Linked DNA regions of Homo sapiens: region 1 is linked to region 2. Evidence: promoter capture Hi-C in 16 types of primary human blood cells and fetal thymus (Javierre and others, 2016). All regions are on one chromosome and are shown on one strand. Each heading gives the region's core, a stretch centred on a gene start or on the middle of the fragment in contact. The rest is flanking DNA. Distances are from core to core; before and after follow the strand shown. Region 1 holds the start of WFDC13 (WAP four-disulfide core domain 13). Region 2 holds the start of WFDC8 (WAP four-disulfide core domain 8).

The links. Contacts are between HindIII fragments. The CHiCAGO score rates a contact against its expected background, and 5 or more counts as called.
Region 1: a contact is called between the fragment with the promoter of WFDC13 here and the fragment with the promoter of WFDC8 in region 2, in 11 of 17 cell types (M2 macrophages, M0 macrophages, endothelial precursors and 8 more). The highest score is 9.2, in M2 macrophages.

Annotation. Positions count from the first base shown.
Region 1 is chr20:45,700,646-45,703,345 of GRCh38, reverse strand. WFDC13 (WAP four-disulfide core domain 13) reads right to left here and starts at 1,308. Exons shown (of 4, transcript NM_172005.2): 1 at 1,135-1,308. The coding sequence starts at 1,222. All of the region lies in intron 2 of WFDC10B (WAP four-disulfide core domain 10B), which reads left to right. The HindIII fragment of the contact is 1,162 bases long and covers 1,019-2,180 here.
Region 2 is chr20:45,577,842-45,580,541 of GRCh38, reverse strand. WFDC8 (WAP four-disulfide core domain 8) reads left to right here and starts at 1,258. Exons shown (of 6, transcript NM_130896.3): 1 at 1,258-1,320. The coding sequence starts at 1,295. RefSeq lists an enhancer at 1,508-2,443. The HindIII fragment of the contact is 6,723 bases long and covers 1-2,700 here.

The DNA of each region.
Region 1 (2,700 bases), core at 59-2,558, 120 kb before region 2:
GCTGTTGACAATTTAACAGAGACCAATAACTAGTACTCACCCCTGGCCTCTCAGCTATTCTATAGCTCACTGGGGCACTGCAAGAAATTGGAACTAATCCACACTTTGAAGAGCTTGGGGCTCAACAGAGCAGTTTAGAGATAGACACCATGATCCAGAGATCTCAGAGAGGTCACCCTTTTCAAGTCTTGACCCCTCTTCTGGGTATCTGGTCCCAACTTCACTCACAGCATTTACCAGTCTTTTAGAAAGCCTCTTTGTGCCTTTCCTCAAATTCTGATTCTCCAATTAACTCTACCCTGGGCACTCCTATTTTCTTGTAGCTTGCTTAGTCCCTCTTAGTCCTACAAACCTGCATGCCTTTTCTGAAACTTCTTAAGCAGGACCTAGCCTCCCCAGACACATGAGCTACCACACTTATCCCTCTTCTGAGCCGCCAGTATTCTGAAGATGTTTTCCCCATAGAAGAGTGGATGTATGATGAATAACAGTTCTTTTCCCACTTGGTATTGGTTAAGGTCAACATTACTAGAGCCAGAGCTCTTTTGAGTTGAGCTGGGCAGTGGTGGCTGCTGAGATGGACTCTACACTGTCCCATTGATGCTAATTACCGGTAATTGTACAGTACCTCTGGAGTTTGAAAATGTGGAATAAAAGGCAAGACTTCCTTTCCCTCCTTCCCAAAACATCCTCCAAGGCCAAGGTTATGTAGATTCTAGCTTGAGTTCTACCAACTTCGTTGTCTCTCTGTTTTATTGCTTGAAAAGTGAGTCCAAGCATCCATGAAGGAGCCACGGGCAGCAAGACTAAGCTGGATGATGAGGCTGATCACATTTACAGCATTTAATATTACTGAGCATTTACCATGGTTTAGTAAGAGTGAGCTATGTCTGCATGCATTATCTGTTCTCCTCCTGTATTCATTATAAGGATAAAAACCTGAGGCCCAGATACTATGCCCAAGGTCACTCAGCAACAGAGCAGGGATTCAAACCTAGATCTTGCCAACAATAAAGCTTGGGCCCTTGAACATGACACGGTATTTTTCCAAGAGGTGTGACAGACTGTCAGCCCTCAGATCCTCTCCTATCCACACATGTTACTTCCCTCCTTGGGCCCAGATCCAGCACCTACTCAGAACACGCTGCTTGGGACTCCCAGGCACCAGCTGCAGTGCTAGGCAGAACACCACCAGGAACTGGAGAGGCAGCACAGGCTTCATGGTGTCAGTGGGATGGGTGAGTAAGTTCTGGCCAAGGGTTGCTGGGTTTGACCAGGCACTGCTGTGAGGAGAAGAGAAGGAAAGAGGGCAAAGTGGAGGCCCAGTGTGACTAGCCTTTCACCGTGTACTCCAATCAAAACCGGCAGGGCAGGAATCCAAGCACCTCCCAATCACACCCACTCCAGGGTCACGTAGTGTTTTCATATCCTCCTTTATTCCCCTAATCTTGACCTTGCTATCTCTTTCATCTGTATCTAGATCTTATTCATGTCCCTTAACATTTTTTTATAATTTTCCCCTGTGGAAATTGTACATGTTATATTTATTCACAGAGGATTGAATTTTTTTTTTTTTTTTTTGAGATGATGGAGTCTGGCTCTGTCACCCAGGCTGGAGTGCAGTGGTGCGATCTCTGCTCACTGCAGCCTCTTCCTCCCAGGTTCAAGCAATTCTTGTGTCTCAGACTCCTGAGTTGCTGGGATTACAGGCGTGTACCACCATGTCCAGCTAATTTTTGTATTTTTAGTAGAGATGGGGTTTCACTGTGTTATCCAGGCTAGTCTTGAACTCCTGACCTCAGGTGATCTGCCCTCCTCAGCCTCTCAAAGTGCTAGGATTACAGGTGTGAGCCACCGCGCCTGGTCTGAGGCTTGAAGTTTTTAAAAGGAAATTGTAAATGTTATCATAACTTTTCAACTAATTCCTTTTGTTTACTGCTAATGTAGAGAAGTTAACTTTCCAGTTTGCTCAAAAATCTCCACCATGACAATTATTTGACCTCACTGAAACCAATAAACATTGACTCTTCACTTCCCTATTTCGTAGTCCTCCCCTATAGGCGTTTACTTTTCTTTCTATCAATGTAGGACTCAGAACCTGTCATTTAAATCTCCTTGCTTGAATCTACCTACAAAAACTGCAACCCTGAATGAATCCAACCATCAATTTCATTGAAGCTTGAACCTAGGCAGATAATTGTTGCTGGGGGAAAATAACTCAACTGGGCTACTAAACAGCACAATAGATGCACCATCACCAAACCAAAAAGGGTCTGGCAATCTTACTAAGTTTCTTCAGTAAGCCAGTGTTCCCACTTTCTACAAATACTATTTCAAACTTGCTTTCCTCTCTTTAAAGCTTGGATCTTTTCTTCTTTCCACAAATTTGTAACTAGTTAGCTTGCTAAATTCTCCCATTGTTTATTATGGTTTCTTTGTGTGTTCTCTTCAGTGTTTATCATAGGCAAATAAGCAGTTATAGTTTTCTTCTTCAAACTTTATGCCATTTTTAATGCCTCACTGTGCTCGCTAGGCCCTTGAGTACATCATATGTAAGTGGTGATAGTGTGTATTTTTGTCTGATACCTGATTTAAAATGAAAACTTCTTGTTTCCCCTTTTAGAATTGTCTCCACTTTAGGTTTCTCATAAGTACCCTCTATCAGGTTTAGAAATTTTTCTTTCATTCCTAACAAGAAAT
Region 2 (2,700 bases), core at 9-2,508:
ATAGGAACTCTCAACTACCAATGGCAAGGCTGTGAATTGGTACAAACTCTTTGGGAAATAATTTGGTATCAGCTTGAGAAGCTGAAGATATGCATACCCTGTAACCCATCATTCCCTATGCTGAATGTATAACCTACAAGAACACCTGCCCACGTGCTCCAGCAAATGCACACAGAGTGTTCATAGCAGCTTTATTCTTTTTTTTACATGAGTAAATTGTTTAAAATTTTTTTGACATTTAAAAACATTTATTAATTCATTTAACGTAATAAACTTATTACATGTTGATATAAATAACATTTTTATTTAGAAAATCCTAGTTTTTTATTATACTTTAAGTTCTGGGATACACGTGCAGAACGTTATTACATACATGCTATGTATACACACAGCAGCTTTATTCTTAACAGCTGCAAACTATAAACAACTCAGTAGAGATGTGTGTAGTCATACAATAGATGGCATGGCAATGAAAATTGACAAAATACAGCTACACAAAACAATGTGGATGGAATTCATTAATATAATGTTGAACACAAAAAGCCAGGCACAAAAGAATACATTCCAAGTGACTCCATTGATATAGAACAGAAGCAGACAAAAACAAAAACATATTTAGGGGAATACATATGATCTTGAAAATATGAAAAAGAAAGTCACTACCATTAGCTGCCTTTGAGAGCATAGGAAGGGGTTGTGACTGGAAAAGAATGAAAAAGGAGCAGAAAGTGTTGGAAATTTTTTACTTGATTTCAGTGATAGTTTAATGAGTGGTCACTTCGTAATAGTTCGTTAGACTGAACATTAATGTTTCATGCATATTTTTATTTTTGTGGTGTTTTTCACAATACATATTTTTACAAAAAGGAAAAGTAGCTCTTCCTTGTTTTGTCTCCTTTTCTTTACTAACTGAACTAGTCAGTCCTAAAGCCATTAGATAGGCACATTTAGCAAGGTAGGCGTTTGCCCCAAGGGGAAGGGAGCCACGGCTGGCTCCGTGTGGGCATCAGAGCTGGAACAGGTCAAGGAGGGTGTCTCTGTAGGAGGGCTGCTGGCCTGGTGTGCTGGAGCCAGGGGTAGATGAGAATGCCCAGTGAAGAGGCAAGAAGCAGCATAGCATGGAGACCAGCCTGCCCATGTTGAGAAAGGCATCCCCCTGGGGCTAGAGGGGCAGACTGGCATAGAATGAGAGCCTGAGTGGGGTGAGCAGAGTGTCCAGGCAGGGGAGCAGATGAGGGAGGAGCCTTAGAGCTGGAGCAAAGTGAGGAAGCTGTCTCCATAGGGAAGAGGCCTGATGTGGACTGTCCGAACTGAAGGAGGGTGAGGAGGGTGTCTATGGGGGTGGGTAGCCAGACATGGAGGGTCTGAGCCCAAGGAGATGAGGAGGATACATAGAAGTTAGAGTGGTCGGCTGTGGGGAGTTGGGCCAAGCATAGTGAGGAGGGGTTCCACAGAACAGAGCTGTCTTGTGTCAGGAATCAGAGCCTAAGCAGGGTGAAGAGGGCATCAATGCATCCAGCGATTCTCCTGCCTTAGCCTCCCTAGTAGCTGGGACTACAGGTGTGCGCCACCACGCTCGGCTAAGTTTTGCATTTTTAGTAGAGACGGGGTTTCACCATGTTGGCCAGGCTGGTCTCGAATGCAACCTGATATGGCTGTTGGAGCCCAAGTAGGGTAAGTTGGGCATCTTTGAGTGGCCCAGTGTGGAGGGGCAGAGCCTGAGCAAGGTAAAGTTTGATATTTTAAATTAAACAAGCATATAATATGTATCTAAACATTTTCAAAAAATTAAAACAGGAGTAGTAGTGATGGGTTATATTATTATTCACAACTATTCATTCCATCTTTCCTTTAAGAGGACACTCCTGTCCATTACCTTGCAATTTTAGAACGGCCCGTGGAAGGAAGACACATTTCTGTCTCATTGACTTTGGGTTTGCTGTCAGCTGTGCTTTGCCTATTGGAGTATGAGCAGATGTAGCATATGCATAGTGAGTTTTGCACTGTGAGTTTCTGCCAGCTCCTTTGTGCTTTCTCTCTGCCAGGAGAAGGGGCCTAATCCACATAGAGGCTGCTTCTTTTGTCTTGGTCCCACAGCCTCAAGTAGAGCCCCCACTTGGAACAAAGCAGTAGACAATTTGCCTAGGAAGTCTTTTGTTGTGGCAAGCCATGGAGAGCTCAAAGTTCTTTGTACACCAAAGTAATAAAAATACAGTTGATTCCCATTACTTGGGGGTAGTTATGTTCTGTAAAGTCACTGTGAACACCGGATTAGCAAATACTGAGCCATTGCTCCTAGGGAAAATGCAAGCCTCTGACCACACATTTTCATCATTTGATCAATACATAACCTTGTTTTTATATGTGCTTCTGTCTGAAGACACATGACAGAGATGGTAATTAGAAGGTGCACACAGAAGACTTCTGGGAAGCTGGCTACTTTCTATTTTTTAATCTGTGTGGTTAATTATTAAATAAAACTCTACATACTTTATTTATTTATTTATTTTTATTTTTATTTTTTTTGTTTTGTTTGAGAGGGAATCTCTCTCTGTCCCCCAGGCTGGAGCATAGTGGTGTGATCTCGGCTCTCTGCAACCTCCACCTTCTGGGTTCAAGGGATCCTCCTGCCTTAGCCTCCTGAGTAGCTGGGACTACAGGTGTGCACCACCACTCCAGGCTAATTTTTGTATTTTTAGT